Regions from separate parts of the Homo sapiens genome. Here all the other regions are linked to region 3. The links are contacts of gene promoters, found by promoter capture Hi-C in blood cells and fetal thymus (Javierre and others, 2016). All regions are on one chromosome and are shown on one strand. The core of a region is centred on a gene start or on the middle of the fragment in contact, and the rest is flanking DNA. Distances in the headings are between cores, read along the strand shown. Region 1 overlaps BRWD3 (bromodomain and WD repeat domain containing 3). Region 2 overlaps BRWD3 (bromodomain and WD repeat domain containing 3). Region 3 holds the start of HMGN5 (high mobility group nucleosome binding domain 5). Region 4 has its middle 20 kb from the start of BRWD3.

Evidence for each region. The method cuts DNA at HindIII sites, captures the fragments that hold promoters and counts their contacts. A CHiCAGO score of 5 or more calls a contact.
Region 1: a fragment that was not itself captured here is called in contact with the fragment with the promoter of HMGN5 in region 3 in 2 of 17 cell types (activated CD4 T cells and non-activated CD4 T cells); the score reaches 6.4 in activated CD4 T cells.
Region 2: a contact is called between a fragment that was not itself captured here and the fragment with the promoter of HMGN5 in region 3, in 2 of 17 cell types (neutrophils and non-activated CD4 T cells). The highest score is 6.8, in neutrophils.
Region 4: a contact is called between a fragment that was not itself captured here and the fragment with the promoter of HMGN5 in region 3, in 1 of 17 cell types (neutrophils). The highest score is 5.9, in neutrophils.

Annotation. Positions count from the first base shown.
Region 1 is chrX:80,745,083-80,748,363 of GRCh38, forward strand. BRWD3 (bromodomain and WD repeat domain containing 3) reads right to left here. Exons shown (of 41, transcript NM_153252.5): 7 at 487-647. Among named protein-coding and RNA genes, the nearest start is that of BRWD3, 63 kb to the right of the region's middle. The HindIII fragment of the contact is 3,502 bases long and covers 1-3,281 here.
Region 2 is chrX:80,778,821-80,782,248 of GRCh38, forward strand. The region is part of intron 6 of BRWD3 (bromodomain and WD repeat domain containing 3); the gene reads right to left. Among named protein-coding and RNA genes, the nearest start is that of BRWD3, 29 kb to the right of the region's middle. The HindIII fragment of the contact is 1,403 bases long and covers 796-2,198 here.
Region 3 is chrX:81,200,427-81,203,811 of GRCh38, forward strand. HMGN5 (high mobility group nucleosome binding domain 5) reads right to left here and starts at 1,487. Exons shown (of 7, transcript NM_030763.3): 1 at 1,311-1,487. It overlaps SH3BGRL (SH3 domain binding glutamate rich protein like), which reads left to right and starts at 1,676. Exons shown (of 4, transcript NM_003022.3): 1 at 1,676-1,819. The coding sequence starts at 1,775. RefSeq lists enhancers at 1,332-1,581, 1,702-1,871. The HindIII fragment of the contact is 6,013 bases long and covers 1-3,385 here.
Region 4 is chrX:80,828,355-80,831,722 of GRCh38, forward strand. No RefSeq gene overlaps it. Among named protein-coding and RNA genes, the nearest start is that of BRWD3, 20 kb to the left of the region's middle. The HindIII fragment of the contact is 6,417 bases long and covers 1-3,368 here.

The DNA.
Region 1 (3,281 bases), core at 437-2,936, 460 kb before region 3:
TAATAAAAATTCAGCTTAAAAAATAACCAGTACTGAAACCAAAAAAAAGATATAAAAAATAGCTATAATCTTCATCACAGTGTAGTTCAACTATCTAATCAAAAAAAGTGATGAAATCATTATTTAGGGAAAACTGGCAGCAATTACACTGAGTGACACATTAACAAACATTTAATAAATGTTTGTTAAAACTGAATGAAATGAAATTGAGTACACTTGTTTCACATAAATTAACCACTTCTAGAATATAAGGTCTTCTGAAGATTTAACTTTTTAAAATTAAACTTCCAAGAAGATAGTAAACATTTTTGTTCATTCGTTTACTTATATAAAATGAGAAACTTTTTTCAATTTCCACTCATCTTTTTCTGCACCCATATATCCAAAAAAAGTGAACTGCTTACAAAGCACAATGCAATGCCATGCAGTCTGGCTTCAATTGTTGTAATTCTATATATGTTACCATATTATAAATTTTACACTCACTGTAAAAATTCTTCTCCCGCTTCGGTCAAATGCTACACAGTAGACAGATGACAAGTGCCCCAGAATTCTCTTATGCATCTTAATGTGCTGGTAAGCAGATGAAGGGAAAATATGACCAAAGCGACTACAGCCGGTTAATTGCCTGGCAGAGGTGATATTCACTGAAAAAAATACGAAATTAACTTAAAACTTAAAAGTGAAACTGATTTCATGAAATTAAGTCATAAATATTAAGATGAGACAAAACAGAGTACATATATTATAGCAATTCTGCCCTGTGAGAAGTCTAAATTCCCTTACATAGTTCATGATTTTATGAACTCCAGTTTACTACAAGAAAGCACCAAGAATACTCTTCCATTAAATCCCAAGGGACTGATATTCTGCTTGGCTTACTGTGGTTTCTCAAGCACATTCTCCTTTTGCCTTTCTTGGTACGCTATAGTCAAAGAGACTGTCATTTTAAATATATAGGTAAATCTTTCTATAACATGAAGAAATTTTAGAATAAAACTGTACTTGGTTAAGTATATTCCTCTAAAAAATTATACAGGAATTTCATAAATTATTGTCCTACCTCCTCACACCTATCCACCATATGTATGACTGCCCCTAAAAATTCAAGAGTAATACAAGTAAAAAAAAACTATACAGTGAAAAGATAAGGAAATCTATGATGTTACAAATATTTTATGTTACAAACAACCTAGGTTTGTCTATGGGTTCTTTCCTTTTGGTTTCTGAATTTAGAGGCTCTCCCTGTAGTTAACAATGAACTTTAAAGGCTTCATCTCCTATGAAGTCATTTTAAGTCCTATCTCATTTTTTTTTCTTGTTCGCTTTGCCTTGTTCTGCATTTTCTTAAAAAAAAAGCCATAACATAGCATAAGTCTACACAATTCTTCTCCAAATACCACGTGGATTCTGCTCATGCTAAAAAACAAATCTTGATCTCTATGTAAAAATTTACAGCCACCCACTTGCCCTGTGAAATCCTTCATCTTCCCTTATACACTAAAAGTGCTTAACACCCCACACAATGTATTTTAATCAAAACATAGGCTCCCTATAACTTCAAAGGTCACCTTGAGGCAAAGTGACATTTTACCATACTGCATAAATAATATAGTACAAAATGAAAATAGCTTCATGTTCAAGCAGGGCAAGATTAAAGCAAGAACTGAGTTCTAGCTAGATTAGTATGATTAGAACCATGCCACAATCAAAAATATGAAATCTTTCAACATCTCACAATTTTAAGAGCAATGAAGTCTTTCTTTCAGGCAAAGGCAGATCCACTGGCCATTTTAACTGACAAAATGACAAAAAATGAATAATGAATAGCAAAATCAGTGACATGTTGAATATAAACAATTAGAACACATAAGAGACCTGAGTAGTTATGTAATACTGCAAGATGCTGAGTAAATAATGGGAGGAACTGCATAAGCATCAGTATCAGGCAAGAGGATTTCTTTTTGGCAGGTGTTCCCATCTCAACCACAAGAAAATCCCATGACTCCAAGATAGGAAGGACTGGTACCCTAATTTGGGACTTCAGAAATCTTCCTTCTCCAGTGAAACATTTCTTACTGCTCTGAGTTCCTTAAAACAATCAACCATTACTTCTGCTTGGCTTTTGTCTCTTCATACTTTGCAGGTAGATGCAGGGGAGAAAGGTTACTTTAAGGCAGGGCTTCTCAACCTTTAAACTATTGATATTCTCCGTTGAATGATTCTTTGCTGTGGGGACTTTCCATTGCAGGGTGTTTTGCAGCATCCCTCACCTGTCCCCACTACATGCTAGTAGGATCCCCCCCACACTAAGTCGTGACAAACAAAAATATCTCTAGATGTTGTCTAGGGTAAGAAACTGCCCCAGATTAAAATCACTGCTTGCAGTATAAAAGCAAAAAACATCATTACCAATAGAAGGGGAAAAAAAAAACAAAACAGAAAAGCAATTTTGAGAAGGGGAGCTGCAGGAGATAGAAAGCAAATCCATGAACATGGGATATCTTTCCATTTATTTGAATCTTCAATTTCTTTCATCAATGTTTTATAGTTTTCACTATACAGCTCTTTCACCTATACTTAAATTTACTCCAAAGTACTTTCTTAGATTCTATCGTAAATGGAATTGTTTCACTGAGTTCTTTGGATAGTTCATTGTTAGAGTATAGAAACAATGTAGATTGTCAAGTTCATTTTGTAATCTGCAACATTACTCAATTTGTATATCAGTTATAAGAGGGTTCTTTTGGTGGATTTTTAGGGTTTTCTACATATAAGATCATGTCATCAGAAAACAGAAAATTTCACTCCTTCTTTTACTATATGGATGCATTTTGTTTCTTTCATTTTCATTTGTTTCTTTCATTTTCTGGCCTAAATGCACTGGCTCAGACTTCCTGTGCTACATTGAATATAAGTGGCGAGAATGGGCATCTTTTTATTAGAGATGGAGTTTCAACATGTTAGTCACGCTGGTCTTGAACTCCTGACCTCAGATGATTCGCCCACCTCAGCCTCCCAAAGTGCTGGTGTTACAGGCATGAGCCACCATGCCCAGCCGAGATACATTCCTTCTATACCTCTTATGTTGAGATTTTATCATGAATACATGTTGAATTTTGTCAAATACTATTTCTGCATCTATTGAAATGATCACACAGGTTTGGTGATCTGCCCACCTCGGCCTCCCAAAGTGCTGGGATTACAGGCATGAGCCACTGCACCCAGCCTTTTGCATCTATTCTCAAAAGGGATATTGGCCTTTAGTTTCCCTGTATTAA
Region 2 (3,428 bases), core at 247-2,746, 420 kb before region 3:
ACACCCTGTCTCTACTAAAAACACAAAAATTAGCTGAGCGTGGTGGTGCACACCTGTAATCCCAGCTACTTGGCAGGTTGAGGCATGAGAATTGCTTGAACCTGGGAGGTGGAGTTTGCAGTCAGCCAAGATGGTGCCATTGCACTCCAGCCAGGGCAATAGAGCAAGACTCCATCTCAAAAACAAACAATTTAATTAGAAAACAGAACGTGGTCGGGCATGGTGGCTCATGCCTGTAATCCCAGCACTTTGGGAGGCCGAGGCAGGTGAATCAACTTAGGTCAGGAGTTCAAGACCAGCTTGGTCAACATGGTGAAACCCCATCTCTACTAAAAATACAAAAAATTAGCTGGGCGTGGTGGCGCATGCCTGCAATCCCAGCTACTCAGGAGGCTAAGGCAGGAGAATCGCTTGAACCCAGGAGGTGAAGGTTGCAGTGAGTCGAGATTGTGCCACTGCACTCCAGCCTGGGCAACAAGGGAGAAATTCTGTCTCAAAAAAAAAAGTAAGAAAATAGAATGTATGCAATCCTCTGATTGGTTAAAGTGTAGTAAGCATATTAGTTTCTATTAAGTAGAGAGGACAATAATAGACTAAGAAAATACTGCCAAAAACACTGGAAAGTGGCCAGGTGGAGCGGTTCATGCCTGTAATCCCAACACTTTGGGAAGCAAAGCAGATCGCTTGAGGTCAGAAGTTCAAGACCAGCCTGGGCAACCCTGTCTCTACAAAAAAAATAAAAAAATTAGCCAGGCATGGCAGTACATGCCTGTAGTCCCAGCTAGTTTTTGGTGAAGCTTCGTTGGGGGTTTCCTAAAATAACTCCAACAACTAAACAGATTAATATAGACTAAAATCTTGAAAGAAGCCACGAAAGCGACAAAAATGAATATGAATAAAATGTGATAATTCTAGTAAAATTACAAAGGTATAGAATTACTTCTTTCATGGATTTGATTCTATGGATCAAATTATGTCTCTAAAACCTTAACCAGCAATAGTAAAAGTATACAGTCTCCAAAGTTGATGCCAATCACATCTCATAACACCAATCCACAGTAAAACTTAAATAACACTAATAAGTTCTACAGGCTATTGATATTCATATTCATGGCCATTGAACATCTTTTTGCTAGGGTAATATTAAGTGAAATATGGCAAAGAAATATTATTTACAATTCCTTTCAGGCTTTCTGCAAAGTTCACTTATATAATTTGGAATGATAAACATCCCAAATCTTTATTTTTTTTAAATCCTCTCCTAAACTTTTTAACTTAATTTGGTTAATATACACAGAAGTTTCAGACTGCCTTTTCCTCCAACTAAACAAACCTGGCACTGTTTTACCTCTTCCCTTTGTGAAGCATAAAGTTCTATCTCTATAAAGTACTGAGTTAAACATATAGAACAAATATCAAAAGATTAATACTTTGGTGTATACTGAAAGAAAAATCTAAAGGAATAATAATGAGGAAAGAAAAAACATGTTCATACTAGGATTAAATGGAGAAAATACTTTTTTCATTATATTTTATATAATAAAATAAGCCCTCATATAATAAAATCTGTTTCATTTTTTAAAAAGATACTAAATTATTAATCCTAATATTACTACAATACTGATTTCAGAAATGGATATAAGGGGCTAGAAACACATATAGGCTATATAAAACCATAAACACATCTTAAAAGGATACTTCAGTTTCCATGTGGCAACAATCATAGCACTTCCATCTATTTAATATTTAGTGAGCACTTACAATGTGGAAAATACAAAAGATGGAGTTTATATTCCAGTTTAATTACTTGCAGGTGTGACAAGAATCTCTTGATCTTCTCCAGGTATATAAAAGTAATGGCTTCAGAAGCAACTCACTTCAGGCACAATTATGAGAGTACAAAGAGGAGGAAGGTGGTAAGTAGAGTGAGGCAGGCCACAAAAAGCAAAACCTAGCAAAAGTATGATACATAGGCAAGATATAGGAACTACATAAAATTAGAGAGGGTGACAAATATTCCTGGCAGAAACCCAGTCACCTCAGCCAGATAAACAGTTTAAATTAGACTACTTTCTTTCCATTTACATTTACATATAAACAAGAGATAGATTCCTCACCTCCAAGTGAATTCTGGCATGAAGAGTGACATATAACGACACAATGGCCAATAAGTCAAGAGTCAATCAATGCTAAATAAAAGCTTAGAGCAACACGTAAATATTAATTTGGCTTTAGAATTAATGCAAGGGTCCTGAGCTGTATACAGTGTAAATTACAAGCTTACTATGTAAATTACAGGATATTGCTATATGCCAATTGTACTAAAGATAAAAAACAAAATTCTTTTTTTTTGAAGTTGCAAGATTTAATAGAGTGAAAACAGAGCTCCCATAAAATGGGAGGGGACCCAAAGGGGGTTGCCGTTGCTGGCTCGAATGCCTGGGTATATCCCGATCATTGTCCCTCCCCGTGTGCTCTCAGGCGATAGATGAGTGGCTATTTCTTTATCTTCTGTTTTTGCCTAATTAGGATTTGAGTGAGCTATTTTTACTACCTGATTGGTCACGTGTGAGCTAAGTTGCAAGCCCCTTGTTTAAAGGTGGATGTGGTCACCTTCCCAGCTAGGCTTAGGGATTCTTAGTCGGCCTGGGAAATCCAGCTAGTCCTGTCTCTCAGTCCCCCCTCTCAACAAGAAAACCCAAGTGCTGTTGGGGAGGTTGGCCGATGACTGCTCTAACTGCTTCCTGCTGAACTGGGGCATAGTAGGGGTCGTGCAGTTGAGATTTCCTCGGGAAAAAAATGTTTAAAAATACAGTCTTATTGCATCATACCCTTGCCTCAGTTTAGAAATATAAGCATGCATACAAAAATCAGTAGCATTTCTATATGCCAACAGAGCACAATATGAAAAGGAAATCAAGAAAGTAATCCCATTTAGTATAGCTATAAATAAAATAAAATACCTAGGAATAAACCTAACCAAAGAAGAGAAAGATCTCTACAATGAAAACTATAAAACACTGATGAAAGAAATTGAAGATACAAAAAAAGGAAAGATATTCCATATTCATGAATTATAAGAATCATTATTGTTAAAATGTCCATTCTACTCAAAGTAATCTACAGATTCAACGCAATCCCGATCAAAATACCAATGACATTCTTCACAGAAATAGAAGAAATAATCCTAAAATGTATATGGAACCACAAAAGACCCAGAATAGATGACACCATCCTGAGCAAAAATAATAAAACTGGAGAAATCACTTACCTGATTTCAAATTACACTACAGGGCTATTGTATCCAAAAACAGTATGGTACTGGCATAAAAACAGAAACATAGGCCAATGGAACAGATTAGAGAACTGAGAAATAAATCCATATGTCTTAAGTGAACTGATTTTCAACAAAGGTCCCAAGAACACAT
Region 3 (3,385 bases), core at 237-2,736:
CTATTCATAATAGCAAAGACTTGGAACCAACTCAAATGTCCCAGTGATAGACTGGATTAAGAAAATGTGGCACATGTACACCATGGAATACTATGCAGCCATAGAAAAGGATGAGTTCATGTCCTTTGCAGGGACATGGATGAAGCTGGAAACCATCATTCTAAGCAAACTATCACAAGGACAGAAAACCAAACACCACATGTTCTCACTCATATGTGGGAGTTGAACAATGAGAACACATGGACACAGGACAGGGAACATCACACCCCGGGGCCAGTCGGGGGGTGGGGGGCTGGAGGAGTGATAGCATTAGGTGAAATACCTAATGTAAACAACGAGTTGATGGGTGCAGCAAACCAACATGGCACATGTATACCTATGTAACAAACCTGCACGTTGTGCACATGTACCCTAGAATTTAAAGTATAATTAAAAAAAAATAAGAAGGTGGCCTCTGGAGTTCCTAACTCTGGAATGTACTAACCATATGATTTTAGGAAAACTATTTTTCTGAGTTTCAGTTTCTTCATCTGTAAAATTAATGTAATAGTACCCACCTCTTGAGGTTGTTTTAAGGACAACATGTAAAGAGATTAATTTGGAATTAGTATTTAAGACAGATTGGAGAAGGGAAAACCTGTGGGTAGGGAACAGTTAACAAAGCTATTGTAAGCACTGAGCCTAGGCAAAGACAGTAAACCACTAGACTGGAGACAGTGGAAAAACAGCAAAGGAAAAGAAGTAGGACAAGCGACTGACTCCTCTCCACTCTCATTCATCTTGCAAATTCCTTTTTTTCTGTTCATTTAACATAATCTGGGAACCTAAAACTACACTTTGAAGTATATGGTCTGTCTCTGGACATTATTAACTGTTTGCTCATTTCCTTAGAGCTACAAATAACCATCTGATCTCTCTCTTCACCATTTCAACATCTGCAATATGTTCTCCCAAATCCCTTACTTCAGTCAGTTAAAAAGCAAAACAAAACAAAAATCATCCATCTTTTTACACAATATTTTCAATCTTTTCTTTGTAATTTATTCCTTCATTCTTAAACTTGCCAATCAGGCCTCCTGCAAATTCCCACGGAAGCAGGGTTCCCTAATTTAACAAAACACAAAATTCAAAAAGAAAACCAATCCTGCCATTTCTGGGCTTAAGGAAACCTGAAACTTTCCTTCAAAACTCTGCAGCATTGCTCAGTACTTTAGTGCCTAATTCCTACAACGAGCTAAGATCAGAAAAATCACTACGTAATAGGAATCTTAAAATGCGCAAGGCTTTGAGAACATGGGTTTTCAACATACAGCTTGCTCTTTCAGGATCTGTCTTCTTATTTGCATATATTTCTGAGCAGGAAGTTATGCGCAGTACTTTTAGTCTCCGCGTGAAAAGGTCCTTCATGCTAATCTAATTCAATTCAGTTCTCCTTTTTCTTTCTTCTTCTCCTCGCCCTCTTCTCAGGGAAGGAATCGTCAAAAATCAATGTTTCAACAGATCTCGCGGTGCTATTCGAGATTCCCTATTAAAAAAAAATAGAATTGATGCAAACAGCCTGTTCCTTCCGGGGTTTTGGGCTGGAACTGCAGCGCTTAGAGAGCTCGGTGGAAGCTGCTAAAGGCGGAGGCGGGGCTCTGGCGAGTTCTCCTTCCACCTTCCCCCACCCTTCTCTGCCAACCGCTGTTTCAGCCCCTAGCTGGATTCCAGCCATTGCTGCAGCTGCTCCACAGCCCTTTTCAGGACCCAAACAACCGCAGCCGCTGTTCCCAGGATGGTGATCCGTGTATATATTGCATCTTCCTCTGGCTCTACAGCGGTAAGGAGAGTGGGGAGTCCACCTTTGTTGTTTTCCTACACACCAGTCCTCTGCTGCCCCAGAACCATTAAAATGCAGAAGTTCCTCTGGCAGCTTCTCCTTTGGAAGACTCATGCATCCCCGATCCCACCCTTCTTCTTCCCTTTTTTCCCTTTGTTGCATCGATTTCATTTTTTTTTTTTTCCACATAGAGTTCAGCTTTGTTTGCTTCGTGACGTTGGGGGGCACATTTCTGCTTTGAAGGAAAACGAAAGCTACCAAGTTTTGGGAGATGGGAGATGGTGCTATACGGTCTTTAGGGTTACGTGAAGTCAAGTAAAATCGCACACTGGTGAGTTTCAAGAGTGAGACATTTGATGAATACGCCCTAAGTACTGAGACAAGGAGGAGTGCACTTCTGTAAAGGATGGGGGTACACATGCTGTAACTGGTGGGGATTGAGTGGAGGCCTACCGAGGCATTGTAATTATTCTGGGTGAGTGAGACCCTGGTAATAGAGTTATTTTGAGAGTGTGTAGAAGAAAGTGGTTAACTTGAGCTTGAAGGCCTGTTAGAACTAGACAAATTGGGAGGGGAAGTTGGTAACAATGACGTAAATTTTTTTTTAACTTAATATGACACGAGATTCAGTTTTCCCCCCATATTGTCCCTTATTTTGACTGTTTCTATTCTTTCAAAATATTTTACTTTTAAATTTCTCTCACTGCTTCAAGTATATTGAGAACTGGATAGGGAGCTCAGTGGCTTCTTGTGTAGTGGCAGCCTGAGTTGCTGCTGCTTCAAATGATAGGACTTTCTCTTTCATGGATTCACTTACTCTTAATTTAGAATAACAAATTTTCAGCAGCTGTCGGGAGAATATGATAAACTGGGGTGCAAGATGAGTGTATATCCATGATAAATGAAAGTGCTTCTGCTTTTTACAACTCAAGAGAAAGGCAGACAGTGGCAAGAACAGATGTGTGGGTTCAGATTGTAGGGTATAGGAACCCCTTCCCTCTTCTTGAGCTTTAGAGCAGCAGCTAATCCAGGTTGTTGTGTGTTTTTATTTTTTGGCTTGTTTATTTACACCTGAGAGGATGTGGAATGGAAGTGGAGGTTATGTTAAATCACAAGAACCTTGATATTTGAACTTTGTCTTCTCTGGCCACCATGTGTGGATATGTTTATGCAATTTTGGAATATCAGAAAATTTAATCTTACATTTTTTGAATAAGTTTAGGTTAAAAAAAAGAACACCTTTTATATTTCCTTTGGACCTAATTTTATGAGCCTCTTGCTTTATTATTTTCCATACATGTTGTCTAATATTTCAAAGTAAAATTTGAGTTGCTCAGAGTCTCAACTCAATCCAATAATTGTAAAGTCCAACTTAATGCCTTTAGTTAAACCCCTAATGAGACTGAACAGATCAGGCAGTTAGTTTTGCTTTGGGAGTCATACAGTTTCAATACTGTTATTTATTCTTTGCTTTCTCCTTCCTCTACCCCTTCTTTAAAAGTAGATTCAACAAGAAACTGCTTTCAGAATTTCTATTCAAGTAAGAATAACTGCACCTCTCTTTGT
Region 4 (3,368 bases), core at 765-3,264, 370 kb before region 3:
GCAAAAACTGTGAAAAAAGCATAGTATCTGGGCTGGGTAGCACAGTTCCTCGTGGCTTCCCTCGGGTGGGGAGAGGGAGGTCCCTGGCTCGTTGCACTTCCTGGGTGAAGCGATGCCCCACCCTGTTTCTGCTTGCCCTCCATGAGTTGGACCCACTACCTAACCAGTCCCAATGAGATGAAATGGGTACCTCAGTTGGAAATGCAGAAACACTCGCCTTCTGTGTTGGTCTTGCTGGGAGCTGCAGACCGAAGCTGTTCCTATTTGGCCATCTTGACCCCTTGACCATCTTAAAGTTGCAGAAAAAGCATCTGACAAAACCCAACACTCCTTCATGATAAACACACACACACATACACACACACACACACACACACACTGAATAAACTAGGAATAAAAGGGAACTACTTCAACTTGACAAAAGGCATCTATAAAATACCCCACAGCTAACATAATACTTCATGGGGTAAAGACTGAGCTTATTCTTAACTGATCTTAGGGATTAAGCTCAAAAAGGATGTCTCTTTTCATCACTTCTGTTCAACATTTTATGGCAGGTTCCAGCAAGGGCAATTAGGCAAGAAAAATGAAATGAAAGACATCCTGTTTAGAAAGGGAAGATAAAAACTCTATTTATAGATGCCATGATTTTTTATGTAGAACATCCTAAATGATCCATTAAAATCTATTATAACGAATAAATGAGTTATGTAAATCTTCAGGATAAAAAAAATCAATGTACAAAATCAGTTGTATTTTTATATACTTTCAGTGAACACTCTGAAACTAAAATTAAGAAAGCAATTCCATTCACAGTAGCACCAAACAGAATCAAATAGTTGAGAATAAATTTAACCAAGGCCATTCAAGGCGTCTACACTAAAAACCACAAAAACCTGTTAAAAGCAGTTAAAGAAGACCTAAACAAATGGAAAGGGAGCCTATGTTTATGTATCAGAAGACTCACTATTGTTAATACTGCAATACTTTCACAGGCATTGCATTAATTTACAGACGTATTAATGATACAATGTGTGTAAAAATTCCAGGTGGTTTTTCCCCCCCCAGAAACTGGCAAACTGATCCTAAAACTATTTTGGAAATGAAAAGTACCAGAATAGTCAAAAGAGACTTGAAAAAGAACAAAGTTGGAGGACTCACTTCTTGATATCAAAACTTACTACAATGTTTTAGTATTTAAGACAGTGAAGTATTGGCATAAGGATAGACATAGATCAATAGAAAATAATTGGGGGTATAGAAGTACACCTTCGCATTTCTAGTAAATTGACTTTTGACAAGAATGTCAAAAGAATTTAATGGGGGAAGGAATAAGGAATAGTCTCTTCAACAAATGGTGCTAAAACAACTGGATATCCACATGAAAAAGTATGAATTTGGAGCTCTACTTCACACCATATACAAAATGAACTCAAACTGGATCAAAGACATAAACGTAAGAGCTAAAACTATGAAACCATTAGAAGAAAGCATAGACATACATCTTCATAATCTCGGAATTGAAAATGGTTTCTTAAGTATGATGCCAAAAGCTCAAGTTAAAAAAATGTGTATATATATATATATATATATATATGTATATAAATTGGACTTCATCAAAATAAAATACTTTTGTGCCTCAAAAGGCACTATCAAGAAAACAGAAAGAAAATCTACATAATGGGAAAATTATTTGCTAATTATGTATCTGACATAAGGAGCTTCAATATGTAAAAATCTCTTAGAAATTAAAAATAAAAAGGTAAATAACCCAACTAGAAAATAGACAAAAAAAATTGAATAATTACATGAAAAGATCCTCAGCCTCTTTAGCCAAAAGAGAAATACACATCAAAATTACTTCATACACAGTATAATGACTGTTATCAAATAGATAACGAATGTTGACACAGATGTGGCAAAATTGGAACCTTCATATGCTACCGATAGGAATGTAATTTGGAACCTTCATATACTGCTTTGGAACATTATTTGGCAGTTCCTCAATTATCTAAACAGAGTTACCCAACAATTCCACTTCTGGATATATACTGAGGAGAATTAAAAACACATATCCATCTCAAAAATTGTACATGAATTTTCATAATAGCAAGAAAGTGGAGACAACTTAAATGTCCATCGACTGATGAATAGGTAAACAAAATATAGCATATCCACACAATAAAATATTATTCCAGAATTTAAAGAGAAGAAGTACTGATACATAGTATAAACATGAATGAACTTTGAAAATACTATACTAAAAGAATTCATTCACAAAACACCACATATGACATGTCCAGATTAGAATAATTATTAAGATAGAAAGTAGATTATTGGTTGCCTAGGACTGAAAGGCTTGGGATAAAATGGGGGTGATTGCCAATTGATGTGGGTTTTGGGGGGGATGTGATGAAATGTTCTAAAATTGACTGTGGTAAGACATAGAGAAACTGGAGCAAGATGGTGGGATAGGACTCTTCAGCAGTCATCTCCCTGCAGAAACAATAATTTGAACAATTCTCCATACATGAAAATACCTTCACAAAATCTAAGAGAACCAGATGAGAGATCACAGTAGTTGGTTATAGCATAATAAAAAAAAGACGCATTGGAGAGGGTAGAAAGAACAGTGTGACATTACCTGCATTACCTCTCCCACAACTTCATGCAACACAGAGTGGGGACACATACCATCCTTTTTGGGAAAAGAGAGAAACTTTGCCTTAGATCCCAATACCGGGCCTGCCACAGTAGAACCCAGCACTGGGCACACCCCATGGTACCTGACTCCAGACTGGTGCCTTAGACTGAGGCTACAAACCTGCCTTGTTGCCAGAGGAAAACACTTAGCCCCTGCAAAATGAACTCAACTTTTAGCCTGCATCACTGATGGCCAACTACAACTGTAAAAAGAGACAAAAAATATTATATAATGATAAAATGGTTGATTTAGCAAGAGGATATAACTACTGTAAATATATATGCACTCAGCATTGAAGCATCTGCACACATGTGCAAATATTAATCAATCTGAAGGGAGAGATAGACTGCAATATAATAATATTATGGGACTGCAACTCATCACTTTCAACAGTGGAAAGATCATCCAGACAGAAAGTCAACAAAGAAACATCAGATTTAAACTGTACTCTAGAACAAATGTACCTAACAGACATTCATAGAATATTCCATGCAACAGCTGTAGAATACACATTCTTCTCAACTGCACATGGAACACTCTGGGAAAAAATATATATTTTAGTCCACAAAACAAGTCTTAACAAATTTAAGAAAATTGAAATCATATCATGTATTTGTTTTATTTTTTTGAGACAGGATCTCACTCTGTTGCCAAGGTTGGAGTG